Linked DNA regions of Homo sapiens: all the other regions are linked to region 1. The links are contacts of gene promoters, found by promoter capture Hi-C in human tissues and cell types (Jung and others, 2019). All regions are on one chromosome and are shown on one strand. Each heading gives the region's core, a stretch centred on a gene start or on the middle of the fragment in contact. The rest is flanking DNA. Distances are from core to core; before and after follow the strand shown. Region 1 holds the start of ACTL10 (actin like 10). Region 2 overlaps CBFA2T2 (CBFA2/RUNX1 partner transcriptional co-repressor 2). Region 3 overlaps CBFA2T2 (CBFA2/RUNX1 partner transcriptional co-repressor 2). Region 4 overlaps ZNF341 (zinc finger protein 341).

The links. Contacts are between HindIII fragments. The study calls those that stand out against the background at their distance.
Region 2: a contact is called between a fragment that was not itself captured here and the fragment with the promoter of ACTL10 in region 1, in 3 of the 25 tissues and cell types used here (dorsolateral prefrontal cortex, hippocampus and lymphoblastoid cells).
Region 3: a contact is called between a fragment that was not itself captured here and the fragment with the promoter of ACTL10 in region 1, in 2 of the 25 tissues and cell types used here (mesendoderm cells and neural progenitor cells).
Region 4: a contact is called between a fragment that was not itself captured here and the fragment with the promoter of ACTL10 in region 1, in 2 of the 25 tissues and cell types used here (H1 embryonic stem cells and lymphoblastoid cells).

What each region holds. Positions count from the first base shown.
Region 1 is chr20:33,665,647-33,668,346 of GRCh38, forward strand. It overlaps ACTL10 (actin like 10), which reads left to right and starts at 1,297. Exons shown (of 1, transcript NM_001024675.2): 1 at 1,297-2,700. The coding sequence starts at 1,852. The coding sequence ends at 2,589. The region is part of intron 5 of NECAB3 (N-terminal EF-hand calcium binding protein 3); the gene reads right to left. RefSeq lists enhancers at 990-1,209, 2,020-2,099 and a silencer at 1,340-1,669. The HindIII fragment of the contact is 10,203 bases long and covers 1-2,700 here.
Region 2 is chr20:33,570,186-33,572,885 of GRCh38, forward strand. The region is part of intron 1 of CBFA2T2 (CBFA2/RUNX1 partner transcriptional co-repressor 2); the gene reads left to right. Among named protein-coding and RNA genes, the nearest start is that of CBFA2T2, 81 kb to the left of the region's middle. The HindIII fragment of the contact is 4,062 bases long and covers 1-2,700 here.
Region 3 is chr20:33,598,844-33,601,543 of GRCh38, forward strand. All of the region lies in intron 1 of CBFA2T2 (CBFA2/RUNX1 partner transcriptional co-repressor 2), which reads left to right. Among named protein-coding and RNA genes, the nearest start is that of C20orf144, 62 kb to the right of the region's middle. The HindIII fragment of the contact is 9,711 bases long and covers 1-2,700 here.
Region 4 is chr20:33,782,792-33,785,682 of GRCh38, forward strand. It overlaps ZNF341 (zinc finger protein 341), which reads left to right. Exons shown (of 15, transcript NM_001282933.2): 12 at 941-1,073. Among named protein-coding and RNA genes, the nearest start is that of ZNF341-AS1, 27 kb to the right of the region's middle. RefSeq lists a silencer at 2,886-2,891. The HindIII fragment of the contact is 4,090 bases long and covers 1-2,891 here.

The sequences.
Region 1 (2,700 bases), core at 47-2,546:
TGGTCCTCAGGAGGATGAGGCTTTGCAGAGACAAGAAGTGACCTCTTTCCTGTGTGGGGGGATTATTACTACCTTTTGGAGGAGAAAACCGAACCCAGAGAAAGATCAAGACTTGCTTAGGACTGCACAGTGAGTCAGCTTCAGAACTGAGTCTTGCTGGGTGCGGTGGCTCACACCTGTAATCCTAGCACTTTGGGAGTCCAAGGCAGGTGGATCACCTGAGGTCAGGAGTTCGAGACCAGCCTGGCCAACGTGGCGAAACCCTGTCTCCACTAAAAATACAAAAATTAGCCGCGTATGGTGGTGCATGCCTGTAGTCCCAGCTACTCAGGAGGCTGAGGCAGGAGAATCACTTGAACTCGGAAGGCAGAGGTTGCACTGAGCTGAGATTGCAACGCTGCACGCCCAGCCTGGGTGACCGAGACTCCGTCTCAAAAATAATAATAATAAAAAAAAGAACTGAGTCTCAAACTGAGGCCCACGTGAATCCATCCGTGGAAGCCCATAAAGGTAGGGCCAGAGCCTCTCGGGGGCTCTTCAGGGAAGCTGCAGATCTGTGATGAAAAAGCTTTTTCTTCAGCACTGGGAGGGGTAGGGGGCCACACATCTGGACAGAGTACATCAGATAATTCTAAGTGGTTTGGGAAAGGAATCAGACTGTGCTGGGCTGCTGAAGCCAGACCCCTGGATGCCAAAATCACTGCCCTTGGCTCTGTCCAGAAGAGAGGATGGGTCCAGGGAGTTGTCATAAGGTAGGGAGCTGCGAAGTGCAGCTGCTGGGGAGTGAGGTCACAATGAGCCCAATCCAAGTTCTTTTCTGCCTTCTGACCAGCCCCTCCCCTCTCCACAACCAGGAACTTCCGTCAAGCCCAGGTGAGAGGTGCCAGGAGGCTGCCTGGGTCCTCAAGGGGGATATATGTCCAAATGGCCTTACCACAAGGCCCCTTCGCCCTCAAAGTTCTGCTCCTCCCGGGGGCTTCTTAGGATCTAAAAGGATCAGTCCTAGCCATCTCGTCAGCCATCTCAGCAAGGGCTGACGGGGCGGAACAGCAAAGCAGAGGCGGGTCCTGAGAGCGTGGAGCCTGAAGCCCGGCGCCAGAGGGAGACCAAGAGGGTGAGATGCGGCTGGAACCCAGCCAGAGCGGAGACTGAAGCCTGAACTAGGGGCCGGGCCTCAGGCCTAGGAACTAGCCACGAGCTGAAAAGGAGGCGGATGGCCCGGACAGAAGAGGCGGGGCTTTCAGACCAGAGGGCGGAGCCAAGAGCTGAAAAGGGTGGTGATTTGGTCCAGAAGAGGAAGAACTTAGGCTCCGGAGGCAGAGCCAAAGGCTGAAGGGGACTACTCCCTAGGACAGAGGCCGGGAGGTATCGGGCCGACGAAGCCGAGTGGCGCGGAGGAGCGGAGCCTTCAGCCCCGCGGCTGGGCCGAGCCCGAAGGTGGCGTCGGTGTCGGGGAGCCGCCGCGTGCACCGGCCGTCCTCCCTGGGCCGCATCGCGGTGGTGGTGGACCAGGGCTCGGGCTTCACCAAGGCGGGCTTCGCGGGCGAGAACCAGCCGCGCATAGTGCTGAAGAGCTCTAGCTTGGTGCCCAGCTGGGACCGGCCGGTGCTGCCCGGAGCGCCGGGCTGCGAGCTGGCGGGCGGCGTGGCGCGGGCGCACCCCATCAAGCACGGCGTGGTGGCGGACTGGGAGGCGCTGGAAGGGCTGTGGGAGCGCCTGCTGGTGGGCGGCCTGCGGGTGTGCCCAGAGCAGTGGCCCGTGCTGGTGAGCGACTCGCCGTTGGCGCCGCCCGCGGGCCGCGAAAGGGTGGCGGAGCTGCTGTTCGAGACCCTGGCAGTGCCCGCGTGCCACATGGCTAGCACCGCGTTGCTGGCGCTCTGCTCCACCGGCGCGTTCAGCGGGCTGGCCGTGGAGGCGGGCGCGGGCGTGTGCCACGCCACGCCCATCTACGCGGGTCACTCGTGGCACCAGGCCACCTTCCGACTGAACGTGGCAGGCAGCACCCTGTCGCGCTACCTGCGGGATCTGCTGGTGGCGGCGAACCCTGACCTCTTGCAGCAGGCCCTGCCCCGCAAGGCCATCACACATCTCAAGAAGCGCAGCTGCTACGTGTCCCTGGACTTCGAGGGCGACCTCCGCGACCCCGCCCGCCACCATCCGGCCAGTTTCAGCGTGGGTAACGGGTGCTGCGTCTGCCTCAGCAGTGAGCGCTTCCGCTGCCCCGAACCCATCTTCCAGCCGGGCCTGCTGGGCCAGGCTGAGCAGGGGCTGCCCGCGCTGGCCTTCCGGGCGCTGCAGAAGATGCCCAAAACGCTGCGGACACGCCTGGCAGACACCGTGGTGCTAGCCGGCGGCTCCACACTGTTTCCTGGCTTCGCCGAGCGCCTGGACAAGGAGCTGGAGGCGCAGTGCCGGCGGCACGGCTACGCGGCCCTGCGGCCCCACCTGGTGGCCAAGCATGGGCGTGGCATGGCTGTGTGGACCGGCGGCTCCATGGTGGCCTCCCTGCACTCCTTCCAGCGCCGCTGGATAACTCGGGCCATGTACCAGGAGTGTGGCTCCAGGCTGCTGTACGATGTGTTCAACTGAGTCAGGCTGGACTGGGGGGGGTGGCACTGCGTTGGGGGACAGCTCTCTATCTAAAGAGTCAAGTGTTTGGAGCTGGCAGGGTCCTCCTGGAGGTTGGAGCTGACTGGATGG
Region 2 (2,700 bases), core at 24-2,523, 95 kb before region 1:
CAGGAGAATCACTTGAACCCAGGAGGCAGAGTTTGCAGGGAGCCGAGATCATGCCACTGCACTCCAGCCTGGGTGACAAGAGCGAGACTCCATCTCAAAAACAAACAAACAAAAAAAGATACTAGAATTTGAAAAGCCCCTGGCAGCCAACATTTTACGTGACAGCTCCTATGAAGGCAAGCCTCTAGGTAGAGCAATGTGATTATATTTAGAATAGGTTAGGAGTTGTAGTATTTGAAGAGTTTTTTTCAGAGCTTTTTAATCTGCTCCTTCGTTTTAAGCAGTGGAGAAATTGAAAGGTAGGGAAGTCAGTAAAGGGGAAGAGTTGAGATTTGAAACAGAGCCTTCTCTGACTCCAAATTAAGTGTACTTTGATTTGAAGTTTGGAGCTAGTACATGTTGGGAATGTTGATCAGTATTGCTATAGATATTGTCGTCTTGAGGTGAGTACATGTGCTGTTAACCCTTCTTTCTGGTACTTAGGAAGAATGGGGGTTTCCTTCTGTGGCCTTACTGATTCTTTCATTCTGTCATTGTACATACTGAGAAACAAAGTTAAATAGTAAAAGGAGTTTGCAGTCTAATGTGAGACTCATTTTCTTTTCATCTGTTTTAATTTTATTAAGTTGTCCTCTCTCATTCCTAGGGCTAATGCCACAATGAAACTGGAAATAAGTTTTCTTGCACTGTGAATGTGAACTGAGGTTTCCACAAGCAAACTGTGCTTCTGTCTCCCCAAGTAGAGAAGCATGGCAAATAACCACAAGTGCTTTGTCGGGGCCCCAGGCTTCTCACTTACCTTTCCCCAGTCCTGGCTCTGTTCTTCATGTCTAAAGTAAGGGAGGACAACAGACTTGGTGTGTGTGTGACTGACCTTCTAGAAATGTTAACTTCCATCTTTATCTTGGAGAATGAATTGAAGTGTTTCCCTGCCTTTCCATCCAAGGGAACCATCTCTAACAACAAATCTTTTTAAGTGGGTCTGGAGGGGGGACAGAGAATTGGTGATTTGTCTTGGTAATTATGTTGTTTTTTGGAGTCAGTTTCAAACACTTCAGTAAAAATGTTTAAGGCTCTTCAACTTTTTTGGTTTGTTTCATTTTAATGTACTACTTTATTCTATTTTCTCACATTTTGTACGCACAAATCAATAGATACTCTTAATTGAATAAGTGAAAATAGTGGGTGAGTTTAAAGATAGATGTTTCGTTTTCCTTATTTTGATGATTACTTTTAAAATTTTAATGTGTACTTGACATAAAATCTAATGTCAATTCATATATCCATTTTTTTCTTTAAGTACAGAAGTCTTAGAACACTTCAAATTCAGTAACTTTTTCAATATATTACCGCTGTCTAGGATTTTGTTTCCATTTTGTTTGTTACACTCCCAGCCAAAATAATAGTTACCATTATTTTTAAAGCTATTAATTTCGATTTACCAATATATTTATTGAATTATCTGGTCACTTTGCATATTTATCACAATTTTCCTTCTAGGTTAATAATTCATTCCTGCCAAGTGTATCTGTTAATAATTCTTGGAGAATCTGTAAGTAGTACACTCTTTTTGCTGATCTGAAGATATCTTTATTTCACCTTTACTTGAATGATAGTTAAATGTGGTTAGAGTGTAAAGGTTGACAGTTATTTTCCATTAGCACTTGGGAGTGGTGATTTCTTTTCTTGTGTTTTGTTTGTTTGTTTGGTTTGTTTGGTTTTTGAGATGGAGTCTCGCTCTGTCGCCCAGGCTGGAGTGCAGTGGCACAATCCCGGCTCACCATAACCTCCGCCTCCCAGGTTCAAACGATTCTGCTGCCTCAGCCTCCAGAGTAGCTGGGACTACAGGCGCCTGCCACCACGGGCCTGGCTAATTTTTGCATTGTTACTAGAGACGGGGTTTTGCCATGTTGGCCAGGCTGGTCTTGAACTCCTGACTTCAGGTGATCTGCCAACCTTGTTTATATGAGGAAGTCCCTCATAAATTTTAGAATAATATCTGTAAAGATGGTGGTAGGGTATTAATGTTAATAATTTTGGTAATTATACTGGGCTTATAAGTAAACATCCTAACTCTTAGCATTTACACACTGAAATATTTAAGCATAAGGGAGTGTAATGTTTCCAGCTTGCTCTCAAGTGGTTTAGATAAAAATATAGGTAGATAGAGAAAAAGAAAGTGATTTTTATAAATGGATGAATTAATTGGTGAATTTAGCTAAATGATATTAACAGAATTATTTGAATAGTCTTGCAAATAAAAATGTTTCTAAATTTGAATAAAAGAAAGTACTGAGCCCATTAACAAAAAAATATGTATATGAAATTAAGTGTTAATTTAGGACTCTCTGAAGAAGTAAATTGAGCTGTGTGCTGAATAACAATAATGAAATAGTCGGTGGATGTCAGTGATAAGAATATTCCAGTGCAAAGGCTCAATGATGGGAATGAACTCAGTATGTTCAAAGAATAGAAAAATGGCCGATGTAGATATAATGTAGTGGACGAAGAGAAGAGGGTAGAGAGACAGGAGACAGAAGTTCATGTAGAGCTTTTAAAGCCAGCATAAAGCTTTGTAATCCAATGAATTTGGATTTCATTCTGAGTGATGGGTAACCATTGAATAGTTGGGGCAGTAATGTGATCTGATTTATATTGTATAAAGATCATTCTTCCTGTCATATAGAGAAAGAATTTTAT
Region 3 (2,700 bases), core at 38-2,537, 67 kb before region 1:
CTTCTGCCATGGCTTCAGCCGGTCCCTCCGTTTGGGGTCCCTGACTTCCCGCAGCAGTCTCACTTCATTGCCCAGGCTGGTTTTCCAGCTTTTTAATCAGTTATAGCAGAAGTCAGTAAACTGTGGCCCACTGTCGGCCAGGCATGGTGGCTTACGCCTGTAATCCCAGCACTTTGGGAGGCCGAGGCAGGTGGATTGCCTGAGCTCAGGAGTTCGAGACCAGCCTGGGCAGCAGGGTGAAACTCCATCTCTACTAAAATACAAAAAAATTAGCTGGGCTCAGTGGCATGTGCCTGTAGTCCCAGCTACTTGGGAAGCTGAGGCAGGAGAATTGCTTGAACCCAGGAGGCGGAGGTTGCAGTGAACAGAGATGGCGCCACTGCAATACAGCCTGGGCGACAGTGAGACTCTGTCTCAAGAGAAAAAAAAAACCTGTGGCCCACTGTCCATTTTTGTGAATAAAGATTGATTACAACACAGCCAAGCCCATTTATTTGTATATTGTCTATAGTGTGCTACAATAGAGCAAAAAAATATTTACTGTCTTGCCTTTGGCAGGAAAAGTTTCCTGATTCCTGAGCTATAATAATGATAAATTAATTTTCCAGTATATGTATAAACATGGAATGTAAAAAATTTATTTTTTCTATCAGTGTTGGTACATGTTAAAGTATTGATTTTGTTTTAATTGTGCTCCATCTTCTATCTTCAAAGGTCCTTGTAAAATACTTTCTGGTAATTTCCCTTTTTTTTTTTTTTGAGACGGAGCCTTACTCTGTTGCCCAGGCTGTAGTGCAATGAATGGCATGATCTTGGCTCACCGCAACCTCCACCTCCCAGGTTCAAGTGATTCTTCTGCCAGCCATAGCCTCCTGAGTAGCTGGGTTTACAGGTGCCCACCACCATGCCTGGCTAATTTTTTGTATTTTTAGTAGAAACGGGGTTTCACCATGTTGGCCAGGCTGGTCTTGAACTCCTGACCTCAGGTGATCCACCCACCTCAACCTCCCAAAGTGCTGGGATTACAGGCGTGAGCCACTGTGCCCAGCCTCTGGTAATTTCTTTGAGTCCTTATGTCTCCATTTTTGTTGAATGATAAATTGTTTGTCATTATAAACAGTTGTTTCTGGCCATCTCGGCATATGAAGCCTGCGTGTTATTAGGAAGTTGGATGTGTTGTCAGATTTGTGGCAGAGTTACAAAGATGGTAAATGCTCATCCTTAAGCATGTACTATGTCCATAATCAGTTTAGCCAACTTTATAAGGCTATAAATGTAACAGTAATTTTGATGTTTCTTCCTCCATCTTTAGCAAGTTAGAATTATCACTTTTGGAAAGTTTTTTTTTTTTTTTTTTTTTTTTTTTTTGTGATGGAGTCTTGCTGTTTTCCAGGCTGGAGTGCAGTGGCACCATCTCAACTAACTGCAACCTCCACCTCCTGGGTTCAAGCAGTTCTTCTGCCTCAGCCTCCTGAGCAGCTGGGATTACAGACGCCTGCCACCATGCCCAGCTAATTTTTGTTTAGTAGAGATGGGGTTTCACCATGTTGGCCAGGCTCGTCTTGAACTCCTGACCTCAGGTGATCTGCCTGCATTGGCCTCCCAACGTGCTGGGATTACAGGTATGAGCCACTGCACCCGGCCTGGAAATTCTTACCATATGACAATTACACATTCAGAACATTTACCTATGCTTGGCAGTGATTGAAGAGAGGCTATGGTCCAGGAAATCTTTTCCCTGATTTTTCCTTCAGCTGTGATACCACCTCTTGGGGGCACTATTCAAACTATATCCCATGTGCTACCTGGAGAGCCCATGTAGCCTTTCCAGCAAACACCTTAACATTGTGTTAAGACTTGCCTGGCCGTCGTACATGGTAATGTTTCTATTTCTTTATTTTCCCAGTACTGTATGTCTGTCTTTCCCATAAGTGAGGTCCCTCCCTACCTTCATCTCTGAACTTCCCTAAGGCCTGGCAAATCCAGGACAGTCAAGTAGATTGGGATCTGGATCCTCAAAATCCAGGACCAAATTATTGGAAATAATCCAATTGTTCATTGACAAGGGATTGTTTAAATGAACTATGGTACCTCCTCAAAGTGTATTATCATATTGTTTTTTAAAATTGTGGAATTAAGAATTCCAGGACATATTGTGATATTATAAAACACAATAATAGAACCAAAAAAAAAAAGGAACATTATAATTTGTATGTGGTGTAGATTAGTTGTCTATTCCTGCATAACAAACCATGTCAGAACTTCATGGCCTAAAATGATAAGCCTCCCCGCTCCCTTCTGTTAGTCTAATCCGCCCACCTCAGTCTCCCAAAGTCTTGGGATTACAGGCAGGAGCCACCCACGCCCAGCCTGAGAGTCTGATTTTTGTTTTTTTTGTGGGTTTTTTATTGTTGTTGTTGTTTTTTGTTTGTTTGTTTTTAGACAGAGTCTCGCTCTGTCGCCCAGACTGGAGTGCAGTGGTGCGGTCTTGGCTTATTGCAGCCTCTGCCTCTCGTGTTCAAGCGGTTCTCCTGCCTCAGCCTCCTGAGTAGCTGGGATTACAGGTGTGTGCCACCACGCCCAACTCATTTTTGTATTTTTAGTAGAGACAGGGTTTCACCCTGTTGGCCAGGCTGATCTTGAACTCCTGGCCTCAGGTGATCCGCCCGCCTCAGCTTCCCAAAGCGCTGGGATTACAGG
Region 4 (2,891 bases), core at 378-2,877, 120 kb after region 1:
GCCCTTCTTTTGCCTGGACTGGAAAGAGATTTTCACTTCTGTGTTTTCTGGCTTTAAAAAAATTACCTTTCATACAAAAATTAGCTGGGTGTGGTGGTGGGCGCCTGTAATCCCAGCACTTCGGGAGGCTGAGGCGGGTGGATCACCTGAGGTCAGGAGTTAGAGACCAGCCTAACCAACATGGAGAAACCCTGTCTCTACTAAAAATAAAAATTAGCCGGGAGTGGTGGCAGGCACCTGTAATCCCAGCTACTCAGGAGGCTGAGGCAGGAGAATCGCTTGAACCTGGGAGGCAGAGGTTGCAGTGAGCCAAGATTGCACCATTGCACTCCAGCCTGGACAATATGAGCGAAACTGCATCTCAAATAAAATAAAATAAAATAAATAAAAGTAAAAAATTACCTTTCCATAGATTTCTTTAGTAATTTGCTCATTTTCCATTAATTCTTTTACTTGTCAGTCATTTGACCCAGGCTCTGTGCTGGGGAGTGAAAGCCCCTCTCTGCCTACTTGGAGCTCCTGTGTAAGCAAAGGGCTGTCATTCAGTGGGTTAAATGCTGACTTAAAAGTGTGGGTGGACATTCAAAGGCAGAATTGGCTTTGCCAGGCATAGCACCAGGGAGCTAGGGAAGGCTTGACAGGAGCAGTGACGCCCGAGTTGGGTCTTGAAGGATGTGTAAGAGTTTGTCAGTAAAGAGAGAAAGGCCCTCTGGGTGGGAAGAACATCCGGGCAAAAGCTCAGGGCAGACATGTTTTGTCCGGGCTTGTGGGGAGCCATGAAGTTCTAAGGGCTGAGTCTGACATTCTGGGTCCTGGCCCCTGATAGCCAGAAAGGAAGGTGTCTCTATAGGGGCTGGAAACGAGGAACCTTTGAGTTCAGAAGATGGCCAGGGGAGGGGGGCCCGGTGAGTCAGACCTGAAGGCCCCTCTTCTCTCCCAGGTGTTTCCTTGTGAACGCTACCTGCGGCGTCATCTGCCCACCCACGGCAGCGGGGGCAGGTTCAAGTGCCAAGTGTGCAAGAAGTTCTTCCGGCGGGAGCATTATCTCAAACTGCATGCTCACATCCACTCGGGTAGGTACCCTGCCCCTGAGAACTCCAGCCCAGCCCCTCCCCTCCCCCTCCCCCTCTCCTCATGCCTTTCTCTCTCTTCCCATCCCCATCTGGCTCTTCTCCCTGTCTCCCTCAGCCCCTTTTCCCTCCACTTCTCCATCTCCCTCCCCATCTCACTCAGTCCCTCCCCTCATCTCTCTCAGCCCCCGTCTCCCTCCTCCTCCCCATCTCCCTCCTCCTCCCCATCTCCTTCCTCCTCCCCATCTCCCTCCAGCACCCTTCTCCCTCCTCTTCCCCATTTCCTTTCCCCTCTCCCTCTCCCTACTCCTCTCCCTCCCCCCTCCCTCCGCCTCCTCACCTCCCTCCCTCTCCCCATCTCCTTCCCCCTCCCCCATCTCCCTCCCTCTCTCCATCTCTCTCCCCCCCATCTCCCTCACCCTCCCCATCTCCCTCTTCTTCCCCATCTCCCTGCAGCCCCCTTCTCCCTCCTCCTTCCCATCTCCCTCTAGCCTCCCTTCCCCTCCCTCTCCCCATCTCCTTCTAGCCCCCTCCAGCCTCCCTCCCCTGTCCTCTCCCCTCTCCCTCCAGCCCCCTCCCCCTCCTCTCTGTCGCTGTCTGTCTCCCTCCAGCCCTCCTGCCTCTCCCCTTGCTCCTCCTTCCTCTCTCCTTCCTGGCCCCTGATCCACCTGCCTTAATTCATGAACAAGGGATTCCCACCACCGCTAAAGCAGAGAAGAGCCCCTGGAGGTTGTGTGGAAGGGACTTTTTATTCTTTTTTTTTTTTTCTTTGAGACAAAGTCTCGCTCTTGTTGCCCAGGCTGGAGTGCGGTGGCAGATCTTGGCTCACTGCAACCTCTGCCTCCCGGGTTCAAGTGATTCTCCTGCCTCAGCCTCCTGAGTAGCTGGGATTACAGGCTCCCACCACCATGTCCAGCTAGTTTTTTGTATTTTTAGTAGAAACAGGGTTTTGCCATGTTGGCCAGGCTGGTTTCGAACTCCTGACCTCAGGTGATCCTCCTGCCTCGGCCTCCCAAAGTGCTGGGATGACAGGCGTGAGGCACTGCACCCAGCCTGTGTGAGGGACTCTTGACTCTGCCCCCTGTGGTGGGGACACTGCTCTCACTGTAAGTTCCCACTCAAACCTGAACAAAACGCCATCTCCTTGGTTCCCCAGTTGAAACACACTGACATTTTCTTTTCTATTAATCTTTAGATTTTTTTATTAGTTAAATTTTTTAATTGCTTTTTAATTGAAAAGGATCTAAAGATTGAGAAAACTTGAGGGAAAATCCTTGACGGGACAAAAGCATATATAAAAAAATAAACTCCCTCTCACTTCAGATGGACAATCCAATGTTTTTCCTTTTTTTTCTTTCCTACGACCTATGGTAAAAAATACATTTCATATTGCAACCCAGGAAGCACACATAGGATGTATTGCAACAAAAGTTTTACAAAACAGTGTTTTCTATTTTGTCCTTTTCAATTTTAGTTTTTTTATTTTTTATTTTTATTTTGAGACAGGGTCTCACTCTGTCACCCAGGCTGGAGTGCAATGGTATGATCTCACTACAACCTCCGCCTCCCAGGTTCAAGCCATTCTCGTGCCTCAGCCTCCCGAGTAGCTGGGATTACAGGCGCCCACCACATGCCTGGCTAATTTCTGTATTTTCAGTAGAGACGGGGTTTCACCATGTTGGCCAAGATGGTCTCAAACTCCTGGCCTCAGGTTACCCACCCACCTTGGCCTCTCAAAGTGCTGGGATTACAGATGCAAGCCACCACACCCAGCCTATTTTTAATTCTTAAAATAACCACCAACAGGGTGTAACTTGTGGT